Linked DNA regions of Homo sapiens: region 1 is linked to region 2. Evidence: promoter capture Hi-C in 16 types of primary human blood cells and fetal thymus (Javierre and others, 2016). All regions are on one chromosome and are shown on one strand. Each heading gives the region's core, a stretch centred on a gene start or on the middle of the fragment in contact. The rest is flanking DNA. Distances are from core to core; before and after follow the strand shown. Region 1 overlaps CFAP46 (cilia and flagella associated protein 46). Region 2 holds the start of TUBGCP2 (tubulin gamma complex component 2).

Region 1 (6,430 bases), core at 1,057-3,556, 380 kb before region 2:
ACTAATAATAAGATACAATCATAACACTATACTGTAACAGAAGTGATGTGGCTGTGGCCTCTCCCTCAGAATAGCTTAATATTTTCATACTGTAGCTGTCTGCAGGTAACAAACTGCAGAAAGTGAACTGCGGGTAACGAGGCACTGCCGGTGTGATTTACACGTCCAATAATGGGACTGGTGGAGGATGTTCTGGATCATCAGCATCATGAAATTTTACGCCGTCCGTAAATTGGACTCTAGAAACAACTGTGGTGCTGTGGACCCGTGGCCACAAGAAAGGTAAAGAGAAACGGGCAGGTGTAAAATTGCAAACACCATCTAACTGCAACTGTGCAAAACACAGGTAGGAAAGACGGCAATGTGCCAACCACGGACCGAAGCCCTGGGGGCCGTGGCCTGGTGAACTGCTCTTCCTTTCTTTGCCTTTTGTCCAACTGCACGGTGAGCAGCGCCTCATCCCCAGGCAGCAGTGTCATGAAGCCACTTACTTTGCTTTCCATCTTCTTCAGGTCTGAGAGGCAGGCAGAGGAGATCTCCATGCATTTCAAGGTCAAGGAAAAACGCGCCAATTCAAAAAGCAAAAGCATTCTGCAAACAAACAAACCAGCCAGCACCGGCTCAATAGGGGGCACAGGAAACATGGCTGCAGGCGAGAATCCATGTCCCCCGTTCAAGCAGAAGCAGGAAATAAAGGTAGGATAAGAAATAAATAAAATTAAGTTAATTAGAACAGAAGCCCTGTGGGGAGGCCCCAGCAGGGCTTCAAGCTACAGCACCGGAGCCCAGCAGTCTCCCGGGGCCAGCACAGTTGTGGAGGCTGCCCAGGGCCACGTCCCTACTGGACACCCTGCTCCTCGCTCTCCAGGCTTCAGGTCATGTGCAGAACCCAGGAGAAGCACAGGGATGACGACATGCGTACTCAAAGCCATTGCATTGCACAGCAGCTCAGACCCACATCTGCAGCTCAGCGAGGCCAGAGGCCATGCAGGGAAGAGGCAGGTTCCTCTTCACACAGAGCCCGAACCTTCCTCCTCCCCACACAGAGCATGGGACTCCCCACACTCCCCACACAGAGCCCGAACCTTCCTCCTCCCCACACAGAGCATGGGACTCCCCACACTCCCCACACAGAGCCTGGGCCTTCCTCCTCCCCATACAGAGCCTGGGCCTTCCCTACACTCTCCACACAGAGCCTGAGCCTTCCTTCTTCCCACACAGAGCCTGGGACTTCCCCACACTCTCCACACAGAGCCTGGGCCTTCCCCATACTCCCCACACAGAGCCTGGGCCTTCCTCCTCCCCACACAGAGCCTGGGCCTTCCCCACACTCCGCACACAGAGCCTGGGCCTTCCTCCTCCACAAACAAAACCTGGGCCTCCCCACACTCCCCACACAGAGCCTGGGCCTCCCTCCTCTCCACACAGAGCCTGGGCCTCCCCACACTCCCCACGCAGAGCCTGGGCCTTCCCCACACTCCCCACGCAGAGCCTGGACCTTCCTCCTCGCCACACAGAGCCTGGGCCTTCCTCCTCCCCACACAGAGCCTGGGCCTTCCCCACACTCCCCACACAGAGCCTGGGCCTTCCCCACACTCCCCACGCAGAGCCTGGGCCTTCCCCACACTCCTCACACAGAGCCTGGGCCTTCCCCACACTCCCCACGCAGAGCCTGGGCCTTCCCCACACTCCTCACACAGAGCCTGGGCCTTCCCCACACAGAGGCTAGGCCTCCCCACACTTCTCACACAGAGCCTGGGCCTCCCTACACTCCCCACACAGAGCCTGGGCCTTCCTCCTCCACAAACAAAACCTGGGCCTCCCCACACTCCCCACACAGAGCCTGGGCCTCCCTCCTCTCCACACAGAGCCTGGGCCTCCCCACACTCCCCACGCAGAGCCTGGGCCTTCCCCACACTCCCCACGCAGAGCCTGGACCTTCCTCCTCGCCACACAGAGCCTGGGCCTTCCTCCTCCCCACACAGAGCCTGGGCCTTCCCCACACTCCCCACACAGAGCCTGGGCCTTCCCCACACTCCCCACGCAGAGCCTGGGCCTTCCCCACACTCCCCACGCAGAGCCTGGGCCTTCCCCACACTCCTCACGCAGAGCCTGGGCCTTCCCCACACTCCCCACGCAGAGCCTGGGCTTTCCTCCTCCCCACACAGAGCCTGGGCCTTCCTCCTCCCCAAAAAGAGCCTGGGCCTCCCCACACTCTCCACTCAGAGACTGGGCCTTCCCCACATTCCTCACACAGAGCCTGGGCCTTCCTCCTCTCTACACAGAGCCTGGGCCTCCCCACCCTCCCCACACAGAGGCTAGGCCTCCCAATACTTCTCACACAGAGCCTGGGCCTTCCTCCTCCCCACACAGAGCCTGGGCCTTCCCCATACAGAGGCTAGGCCTCCCCACACTTTTCACACAGAGCCTGGGCCTCCCTACACTCCCCACACAGAGCCTGGGCCTTCTTCCTCCCCACACAGAGCCTGGGCCTCCCTCCTCTCCACACAGAGCCTGGGCCTCCCCACACTCCCCACGCAGAGCCTGGGCCTTCCTCCTTGCCACACAGAGCCTGGACCTTCCTCCTCCCCACACAGAGCCTGGGCCTTCCTCTTCCCCACACAGAGCCTGGGCCTCCTTACACTCCCCACACAGAGCCTGGGCCTTCCCCACATTCCCCACATAGAGCCTGGGCTTTCCTCCTCCCCACGCAGAGGCTGGGCCTTCCTCCTCCACACACAGAGGCTGGGCCTTCCTTGTCGCCACACAGAGCCTGGGCCTCCCCACACTCCCCACACAGAGGCTGGGCCTCCCCAGACTTCTCACACAAAGCCTGGGCCTTCCTGCTCCCCACACAGAGCCTGGACCTTCATCCTCCCCACACAGAGCCTGGGCCTTCCTCCTCCCCACACAGAGCCTGGGCCTTCCCCACACAGAGGCTAGGCCTCCCCACACTTCTCACACAGAGCCTAGGCCTCCTCACACTTCTCACACAGAGCCTGGGTCTCCCTACACTCCCCACACAGAGCCTGGGCCTTCCTCCTCCCCACACAGAGCCTGGGCCTCCCTCCTCTCCACACAGAGCCTGGGCCTCCCTCCTCTCCACACAGAGCCTGGGCCTCCCCACATTCCCCACATAGAGCCTGGGCTTTCCTCCTCCCCACGCAGAGGCTGGGCCTTCCTCCTCCACACACAGAGGCTGGGCCTTCCTTGTCGCCACACAGAGCCTGGGCCTCCCCACACTCCTCACACAGAGCCTAGGCCTTCCACCTCTTCACACAGAGGCTGAACCTTCCCAACACTCCTGACACAGGGCCTGGGTCTTCCCACGCTCCCCATACAGAGCCTGGGCCTTCTTCCTCCCCACATAGATCCTGCAGCTTCCTCCTCCCCACACAGAGCCTGGGCTTCCCCACGCTCCCCACACAGAGCCTGGGCCTTCCTACCATGCGACAAGCCCGTAGGCGTGCCGCCAACCGCACCTGCAGTCACCAATCAGGGTCTTTGCAGAAACTGACAGGCTGAGGCTAAAATTTGTATCCACATGCAAGGACCCACAGTGCTCCAGACAACTTCAAGAAAGAGCACAGCGGGTGCTCTCAGCTCTCCACTCTAAGGCTTCCTGTTGAGCTGCAGGGATCAGGATCACGCTCCTCCGGTGGAGATTAGGCCAGGGTTTCCCTCCGGGACGCCTCTCTTCCAGGAGGAGCCTGTCCATTGTGTCCCTGCAGCTGCCCGCTAGATGAAGAGCAGCCGCCCACAGTGTCTCCAGACATTGCCAAATGTCCTTGGGGAGCAGGTCTACATGTCTTCTGCTGTTTCCCGGGGAGTAATCACAGTCTTACCGGGAACACAATTGGCGGCTGCTGGCAGCGACTCAACTCGGCCCTCAGTGTGGTGTGACCATCCTCCCTGCATCCCTGGGTAGCTGTGGGCAGGAGGCTGCTTTGGGGTGGGGTGCGGACGCTTCTCCGCCCCTCGTCCCTGCCCACCTCCTCCTCCCCCTGCTCTGCTGTTGGGCCCTCTCAGGTCCTGGCAGGCCTGGCATCACAACACTGGCCTCTCCGTCCTACCTGAGCTCCAGCGCACAGGCCTGCTGGGCAGGTCGGGAAGAGAGAATCCGTAAAAGTGCCTGAGAATGCCGCCTGTGGACAGACCTCGGAACAGGGCTATTTACACTGGTCCCAAGACCTCTCGTCGGAGCGCCTGGCCACAGAAGGGGATGCTCGGCCAGGGCCACGGCCACGCTTGGCCGGACTTCAGTTAGAACAACCTGGAGGGTCTGATGGAAGACGTAAACTCCTTCCAGAACAATATATCCACACACATCCCCATGTACACATGCACTCATACCCCTCCCAAAAACAGACCCACCAGCAGGCTGGCCCTGTGCCCCTGCGGCCCAGGCTGTGGCCCAGCAGCCACCCTGCGGTCCTGGGGCCCCTCCCTCGAGGAGCCTGCAGCTGAGCAGCGGAGACCTCAATGTTGGGCAGGTGCCACCTCCCTGATGAGACCACGAACGTGCTGGCGTCTGGCGCCCCTCGCTAGCACTGATGAAGCAAGCTGTCCCACCAGGACCGAGGCCTGAACCCACAGGAACCGAGTCCTCTCAACACCCCTGTGAGCTTGGGGGACCCCTTCCCCAGTCCAGCCTCGAGAAAAGACCCCAGACCAGTCAACACTGTGGCTGCTGCTGTGCCCAGGTTCCCGTCCCACAGACACAGGGAGGTCATGGATCTGTGCCCAGGTTCCCATCCCGCAGACACAGCGAGGTCATGGACCTGTGCCCGGGTACCTGAACCGCAGACACGGTGAGGTCATGGACCTGTGTTGTTTCAAGCTCCTAAGTTTGTGGGTACTTGTTACGCAGCTGCAGATAACTAATACACCTTCTCTGTTAGTTTCCCATGGCCACCAGAAAACCAAACAGATAATTTCAGCCTCCCATATCAACAAGCTTTACTTGTTTCCCATTTTCTTAAAAATATACACAGTGCTACTAAGGAGGTGACAAAATCGCTCCAGGGGCAGGGGACAAACCCCCCCACCCACCCCGTGCCCACGAAGGCAAAACCAGCCAGTGCTTTCCATGTGCTTCTGAAAGCCTCGGGCTCAGCTTCCTGCTTCCAGGATACCAGCCCAGGACTTATCCCAAACTCTCAACAGTGCCTGGAGGATTCGAGAAAGCACAGAATCCAAACAAACCAGCCTGAAAAAGGCTCCAGAGAAACCTGTGTTTTCCCACCCATGGAACGCCACGCAGCCACCAGAACCGTGAGAGGTGCCACAGTGACCTAACCATCCATATGCCTACAAACTAAACTCATGTTAAAAAGTAGGGTATGAAAGTATTCGCAAGACAGTACAAATCTCAGGCCACAAAAGACCAGACAGGACCTTACTAAAACCTCCACAATGGCTGGCTTTTGCAAAGGTGGTTCTAGTTGCTTGTTTTACATTTTTTCACATTTTTCAGTGCCTGCTAAATTTTGTACAACGATTATGAAGATGTGATATTGGAAAAATACAAACACTTACTTTTCTTCACTGATAGAGGGAAAGCGCTGGTGGTTGTAATGACCTAAGTGTCTGTAGGCCTTCCTCAGAATGACACTGATGTCACCTGGTAAATCATTTTGCTCCGCTTTTCTAGAAATAATTCAGAGAGTAATTCAGCACAAGATCCTGTCAGATTTATTCAAATTCTTCTAAGAGAAACTCTGCGTGTATGAAATTGTGTTTCTCACTGAAGAGGAGACTGAAAATAACCCCTCCTGCCTTCTTTCCTCAAATTCCTGAGATGACTTTTCACCCCTTCTGGTCCTCCTTCCCTCCATGATGCCCGGCCTTCCTACAAGGCTGGAATAGAAACACTCAGAGGGCCCAGACCCCTCGCCAGAGTCAGCACCCCACATAGGAGCCAAACACGGGAAATGTGGGGCACTCTCTCTGCTCAACGGCGATAGGACCTGGGCCAGCATTGCTCTCTCCCAGGGATGCTGCCCATAGGACACAAATACCTCAGATCTCCTCACTCCCCTTGGTATCCAAACCCACTGTGATCTCCTCACTCCCCTGAGCACCCAAACACACTGCGATCTTCTCATTCCCCTCAGCACCCAAACCCACTGTGATCTCCTCACTCCCCTTGGCACCCAAACACACTGTGATCTCCTCACTCCCCTCAGCACCCAAACACACTGAGATCTTCTCATTCCCCTCAGCACCCAAACACACTGCGATCTCCTCACTCCCCTCAGCACCCAAACACACCGTGATCTCCTCACTCCCCTCAGCACCCAAACACACTGTGATCTCCTCACTCCCCTCGGCACCCAAACACACTGCGATCTTCTCATTCCCCTCAGCACCCAAACCCACTGTGATCTCCTCGCTCCCCTCGGCACCCAAACACACTGTGATCTCCTCA
Region 2 (7,034 bases), core at 2,626-5,125:
TACTTAGCAGACCGGGAAAGGGAGTCTCCCTTTCCCCGGAGAGTTTAGAGAAGACTCTACGCCTCCAACTCTTGTGGAGGGCCTGACATCAGTCAGGCCCGCCCGCAGTTATCCGGAGGCCTGACTGTCTCCCTGTGATGCTGTGCTTCAGCGGTCACACTCCTGGTCTGCTCTCATGTTCCATCCCGTACACCTGGCTCCGCCCTCTAGATAGCAGTAGCAAAATTAGTGAAAGTATTAAAGTCTTTGATCTTTCTGAAAAGAACATAGAAGAAATAATGACATAAGCTGTCCTCTCTCTCTCCGCCTCGGCTACGTAACAGGGAAGGGCCCCATGTCTGGTGGACACATGACACACATGACCTTATCAATCATTGGAGATGACTCACACTCTTTACCCTGCCCCTTTTGCTTTGTATCCAATAAATAACAGCGCAGCCAGGCATTCGGGGCCACTACCGGTCTCTGCGTCTTGGTGGTAGTGGTTCCCCGGGCCCGCTGTCTTTTCTTTTATCTCTTTGTCTTGCGTCTTTATTTTTACAATCTCTCATCTCCGCACACGAGGAGAAAAACCCACCGACCCTGTGGGGCTGGTCCCTACAATAGAGTACAGAAGACTCAGCACATACTCCCACAATATGCTAATTCACTAACGATTATTAGCACGGGACTCGACACCGAGATTCTAATCCTGTGTGATGGAAGACAGTTTATCTGTAGATGAACATCAAATACTGGTCACAGGCAGGGTATCTCCGAAAATGGAAGGAGAGCGATAAGAAGGCATGGTGCTGAGTTGCTCACACACATGCTTTTGACCCAGGAGGTGCTCACGGTAACTACAGTTCAAGCACAAGGCCAGCAGGGCACGCGCCATGGAGCCCCATGCAGTCTGGACACTGACGTGGCTACTTCTAGGCTGTGGGACCCTGAACAAGGACACGTCCTCTCCAAGCTTCTTCTGAAAAGGGGAAGCCCTAGGTCCTGCGTAGAGCTGTGGTAGAGAGAAGTGAAATCACCCTGAGAAAGCACAGAAGGGCCCATACGTGGTAAGTTCTTACACTGTTGTTACCAGGAAAGCAGAAACAAACATGCGGCACCATTGCTCCCTGGAGGTGTTAACTCTGTTATCTGGGAAATGGTTAGGTTTACAAAAGGAAAATTGGGTCCCAATCACTGACAACATCTTAAACTACCAGATGCTTTTTTAACAGTCATGGGAGCCCTGGACGAGGCCCTGCAAACTACTTGTGAAGCAGAAAAGACAGCCCAAACTTTCCGGCCAGCGGCCCCTTCAAATCCAAGGGTGGCCTGTTTCACCCACATTCTACTCGGCTCCCCGAGGACTGCAGGTTGTCCTATAACTGCTGGTCTGAGAAACACTTTGGTCATGCTAGGTGGCAAGAAAACCATTTGCCACCAAAACAAAGCACTCCCCCACCAGACACAAGTCAGGAGAGAAAGCTACCTATGAAGAAAAATCATCTGAGTATTTATTTAAAAACTACATGCTGGGCACGGTGGCTCACGCCTGTAATCTCAGCACTTTGGGAAGCCAAGGTGGGCGGATCATGAGGTCAGGAGATCGAGACCATCCTGGCTAACATGGTGAAACCCCATCTCTACTAAAAATACAAAAAAATTAGCCGGGGGTGGTGGCGGGCGCTTGTAGTCGCAGATACTCCAGAGGCTGGGGCAGGAGAATGGCATGAACCCGAGAGGCGGAGCTTGCAGTGAGCCAAGATCACACCACTGCATTCCAGCCTGGGCAACAGAGCGAGACTCTGTCTCAAAAAATAATAATAAAAAAAATAAAAACTACCTTCAGGAAACTTCGTATCTCTTCTAGAAATAGAAGCACAGATGCCCGCACGTCATGAGTGTTCATCCCATGAGGAGCCTGCTGCTCTCCCTGAATGTGGGGACCGGGCCTCCAAGAGGGCAGCCCGTACTCGCACAGAGTCCCTCCCCCCAGAAGACCTTTGGAAAAGTCCTAGGGCAACTCTGGGGTGTCACGGTCATGGAAGGGTGCTCTCGCTACTTAGAGGGCAAGGGCGGGGGATGCTAATCATCAACAGAGCTGTCCCGCCAGAAATGCACAGCGTCCCACTGAAAACACAGCTCTGAGGAACATCTAGCCGTGGCTGCTTCTTGGAGGAACGTCTAGCCATGGCCGCTGACTTGGCCTTCTTGATGCTCCTGAATTCTTACTATTAATCACACAAACTGACAGGCCCAGCAACTGTGACTGGGAGGGACTGACGTCCTCCTCACAGAGGCTGTGAGCTACCGCAGGGACGCGTGCTGAGGGAAGCAATGCACGCATGTCACACTCCACCACGGACAAGCGGGGCACACACTCCTAGTGAGCACACACTCCAAGTGATTAAAACACAGAGGGACGTGAAAAAGAGTCTCTGTTGAGAGCTCAAAGCTAACTGTACAAATTGGTTTGAAAAATGTTATTTTACAACTTGTGGAAAATGTCAAGAGCCCAAAGGCTTTTACAGAGACAGAAAGTACAGTCATGCATCACTCAACATTCTGAGAAATGCCTGGCCAACATGGTGAAAACCAGTCTCTACCAAAAATACAAAAATTGGCCAAGCCTGGTGGCGCACACTTGTAATCCCAGCTACTTGGGAAGCTGAGGCACGAGAATCGCTTGAACCCAGCAGGCAGAGGTTGCAGTGAGCCCAGATCGCGCCACTGCACTCCAGCCTGAGCGACAGAGAGAGACACTATCTCCAAAAGAAAAAAAGAGAAACGTATGGTTACATGATTTCCTTCTGTGCGATCATCAGAGTCACTCGCAGACCTGGATGGTGTACGGCCTACAATGCACCTAAACCACCTAGAGGAGCCTCTTGCTCGTGGGCTACAAACCTGCCCAGCAGGTGGCGGTGCTGAACACTAGACAACTGTAACACAGAGATATTTGTGTATCTAAACATGGAAAAAGTACAGGGGCAGGCATGGTGGCTCACGCCTGCAGTTACAGCTCTTTGGAACGCTGAGGCAGCAGGACCACTTGAGCCCAAGAATTTGAGGCCGCAGCGATCTATCAGCTATGATCGCACCATTGCACTCCAGCCTGGGTGACAGACGAGAAAGCTAAAGCCTCTATCCGCCACTGGGCCCATTCTCTGCAGTAGATCTGAAGCGTCCACTGCTTCCCGCGTGTGTTGTCATTCACCATTTTAATTAGGTGACTCTTTACTCTGACGTCTGTCTCTCCTACAAGGCTGCCGCGCCCTCCTGTGATGCCTTCCCCCACACGCCCTGAGCACCTAGCACAGGTCCTGTGTTTCACGGGAGCTGCGGGGACTGGAGAGGTCGACAGGACCCCGACAAACCAGGAAAGGGCCTTTGAACTAAAGTAACGGGAAGTCACCCAAGGGCTTTAAATTAAAAACGGTTACAATAAAACTGGAGTCACTTTGGCTCCAGTTCGCGACTGGTTTAGAGGGAACAAGATCCAGGGACTGCAGCGGGAGACGACAGGCGGGGCAAGGCGGACGGGAGAGGGCGTGCGAGAGGGGGACCTGCGACCCGGCTTCCCAGGGCTGGGAGGGGACACCCGGGACGACCCGGAGGCCCGCTCCGCCCCGCCCCGGCTGAGTGTCGGGCCGCGGGGCAAGACGCTGGCCTGGCCGGTGCAGGCCCGAAGGGCTTCGGCCCCAGAGTTCGGGGACCGCTGCACAGCCAGAGGGAGCGCGCGGGAAGAGCCGCGTCCCGCCAGCCCCGTCGCCTCGTGGGCCCCCCCGGGCCTGGCAGTCCCCCAACCCCCTCATCACGCCCGCGCCCGCGTTCGGCCAGGACTCACCGCAGTCCCGGAGCCACAGCCCCCGCGCAGCCCCCGACGGCGGCGGAAGTGAGCGTGACGTCACGTCCGGCTCGGCTCGCGGACGGTGGCCGACAGGCTGCGCCCGCCCGCGCCCGGGGTGATGCAGTTGCCCCCCGCGCTGTGCGCCCGCCTCGCTGCGGGGCCCGGGGCGGCGGAGCCGCTGCCTGTAGAGCGGGATCCCGCGGCTGGGGCCGCGCCCTTTCGCTTCGTTGCGCGCCCCGTGCGCTTCCCGCGGGAGCACCAGTTCTTCGAGGTGCGTGAGCAAAAGAGGGAAAAAGTAGTTGTAGGATCCAGTGGGGCCTACGGCGGCGAGGCGGGGCCGGAGCCTGGAGTGGGAGGGGCCTACGACTGCGGGGCGGGGCCGGAGCCTGGGACAGGCGGGACCTGAGGTGGTGGGGCGGGGCCGGAACGTGGAGTGGGCGGGGCCTGAGGCTGTGGGGCGGGACCGGAGCGCGGGATGACTGGGGCCACGGGTGTGGGCGAGGCCTGACGCGGTGGGCGTGCCGCGAGTCACCTGGCCCCGCCCACGGCGCACTTTTCCTGCAGGATGGGGACGTGCAGCGCCACCTCTACCTCCAGGACGTGATCATGCAGGTGGCCGACGTGCCTGAGAAGCCCAGGTAAGCGAATGGGCAGTGCCTAGCCAGTGCTACTCCTGCGCCGCCTCCCTGACCGGTGCCTGGTCCCTGGGGCTGTGCTGCCGCTCTTCCATGTGCGGCCGCCCCACCGAGGCGCTGTGCCTGTCCAGCTTTGGCGTGGCCGACTCTTCCACCACCTAGCCTGTTTGTGAAACTTAATTCATAAAAAGAGGGTTTGGGATTGCAAAAGATGCATAGGGGCTTTATTGGACGTCTCAAAGGGAAACTGTGCAGAAAGTCCAGCTTGGTTCCTCGCACCGGAGGAAGGGCTCCTGAAGCACGTCTCCTTGGCAGGGTGCCCGCGTTTGCCTGCCAGGTGGCCGGCTGCTGCCAGGTGTTCGATGCCCTGGACGACTACGAGCACCACTACCACACGCTGCACGGAAATGTTTGCTCCTTTTGCAAGCGGGCCTTCCCTTCCGGACACCTGCTGGACGCCCACATCCTGGAGTGGCACGATTCGCTCTTCCAGATCCTGTCTGAGAGGCAGGACATGGTGGGTGACAACTGCACAGCCGCCGAGGCCACCCCCCATTGGTGATGGGCTCAGAGTGCTGCCCCCAGCTCTCGGGTGCTCGGGCAAGGCCGGGGACACCTTTCCGCCCTTGGCAGCTCTGCTACGGGGGCATGGCGGTGGGGGAGGGCCAGGGGTCAGAGGGAGGTGACACGGTCTCCATTTCAGTATCAGTGCTTGGTAGAAGGCTGCACAGAGAAGTTCAAGACCAGCAGAGACCGGAAGGATCACATGGTGAGGATGCACCTGTACCCCGCGGACTTCCGGTTTGATAAGCCAAAGAAAAGCAGAAGGTAGGGAGCCGCCAGGCTCAGCACGTGTCTGCTTTTGATTTTAGGAAAAGGTTTCCAACTAGCCGGAATGCATAGACGGTCAGACTTATTAAGCACTTGTGTGTCACCTAATGGGGTGTTCACCTGCAGGTACCTGAAGCCCTGGCAACACAGCTACAGGTGGTTGTGCCAGCGGCCACCCTGCCGAAGGGAGGCTGGAGGGGAGCCCCTGGCTGCCCAGCTCTGTGCCGGTGGAGGCAGCAGAGGGGGTGTGGGAATGAGCGGGCGCAGCGCCTCCGCACTCACACCCCTCTGGGCCATGCCTGTACCTCCTGCAGCAGTCGGCCGTGGTCATCCGCACTCACACCCCTCGGGGCCGTGTCTGTACCTCCTGCAGCCGTCGGCCGTGCTCACACATCATGCAGCCCTGGCTTTCCTTTTGTCCTGGTTGGTTGTGCGCATATGAACTTGATGACAAAGCTGTTGATTAACATGTTCCTGCCTAGAGTGCACTCTGGGAAATACTTCCAGGAACAATCTTTTTTTTTTTTTGAGACAGGGTCTTGCTCTGACACCCAGGCTGGAGTGTAGTGGTGTGATGTAGGTTCACTGCAACCTCCACTTCTCAGGCTCAAGCGATTCTCCCACTTCAGCCTCCTAAAGTGCTAGGACTACCAACACGCATCGCCGCACTCGGCAAAATTTTCTATTTTTTGTAGAGACAGGGTCTTGCTATGTTGCCCAGTCTGGTCGTGAACTCCTGGGCTCAAGCCGTCCATCTGCCTCAGCCTCCCAAAGTGCTGAGATTGTAGGTATGAGCTACCATGTCCAGCCGGAACAATTTTTAAATTGTGTTATATTTCTTCTTTTTTTAACTGATGAGGTGAACTTTCATAATCATCTACAATTTTATTGATCAGAGTTTTTCAGACTCTACATTTTCTCAAGTAGTAATTTGCTCTTTAAAATAAAAGAACTGGGAGAACCCACTGCAATGTGGGAGGCTTTACAAAGACTTACGTGTAAAGTAATTGTCTCCTTTCCGAGGGATCATTTTAAGGAGAAAAACCGTGCAATGCTGGATTAAGACATTCGTATTATGGAAGAGACTAGTTTATAGTCTCTGGTTAACTTTAGCAAATTTCTCACACTCATAAAAAGACCCGTGGCACCGTTGGCACCATAAAAATACTATTTTCAAAAAAAAGTATGATTGTTACAGTTAAGTTTATAAGATGCAGACTCTATTATATAAACAATGGCCTTGCTGTAATCATTCTCCTTTTCCCAGTATCTTAAACCACACTATAAAATCAGACTATGCCAAAATAGTAAGAAAATATGCTACTTACAGGGAAATCCAGTTTCTTTCTTGCATGTTCATTTCTGGGGAACACAGGGGCTGTGGGAGCCGTGCAGGGCAGTTACTCACTGCTCTCTCCCCGCAGCCCAGCCTCAGCAGAAGCCCCAGGGGACAGTGGAGAGCGGTCAGAAGGGGAGGCCATGGAAATCTGCTCTGAGCCTGTGGCAGCCTCCCCTGCACCGGCAGGTGAGAGGCGGATCTACAGACATAGGTCAGTGTCTGAGCTCTTTCTGAAACCCGTTCTCAACATGTGTTCGGTGCTGAGGATTCTGGGCTGCACCTGGGCCGCAGCTCTTCTCATACTGAATTCAGAAAGGTAACGCTGGGTAAGAAAATCGGCTTCCGCCAGAGAAGAAAGTCCAGATATCTCAGGTCCTGTGAATAACTTAGTTTCTCTCGC

Evidence for each region. Contacts are between HindIII fragments. The CHiCAGO score rates a contact against its expected background, and 5 or more counts as called.
Region 1: a contact is called between a fragment that was not itself captured here and the fragment with the promoter of TUBGCP2 in region 2, in 1 of 17 cell types (M2 macrophages). The highest score is 5.0, in M2 macrophages.

Annotation. Positions count from the first base shown.
Region 1 is chr10:132,929,214-132,935,643 of GRCh38, forward strand. CFAP46 (cilia and flagella associated protein 46) reads right to left here. Exons shown (of 58, transcript NM_001200049.3): 8 at 5,539-5,649; 9 at 492-591. Among named protein-coding and RNA genes, the nearest start is that of CFAP46, 10 kb to the right of the region's middle. RefSeq lists enhancers at 1,141-1,260, 2,720-2,789. The HindIII fragment of the contact is 5,297 bases long and covers 1-4,955 here.
Region 2 is chr10:133,304,997-133,312,030 of GRCh38, forward strand. TUBGCP2 (tubulin gamma complex component 2) reads right to left here and starts at 3,876. Exons shown (of 18, transcript NM_006659.4): 1 at 3,827-3,876. ZNF511-PRAP1 (ZNF511-PRAP1 readthrough) reads left to right here and starts at 3,918. Exons shown (of 9, transcript NM_001396060.1): 1 at 3,918-4,100; 2 at 4,394-4,467; 3 at 4,780-4,981; 4 at 5,168-5,292; 5 at 6,720-6,845. The coding sequence starts at 3,948. It overlaps ZNF511 (zinc finger protein 511), which reads left to right and starts at 3,918. Exons shown (of 6, transcript NM_145806.4): 1 at 3,918-4,100; 2 at 4,394-4,467; 3 at 4,780-4,981; 4 at 5,168-5,292; 5 at 6,720-6,845. The coding sequence starts at 3,948. RefSeq lists enhancers at 3,053-3,282, 4,006-4,701, 4,109-4,403 and a silencer at 3,513-4,362. The HindIII fragment of the contact is 14,798 bases long and covers 954-7,034 here.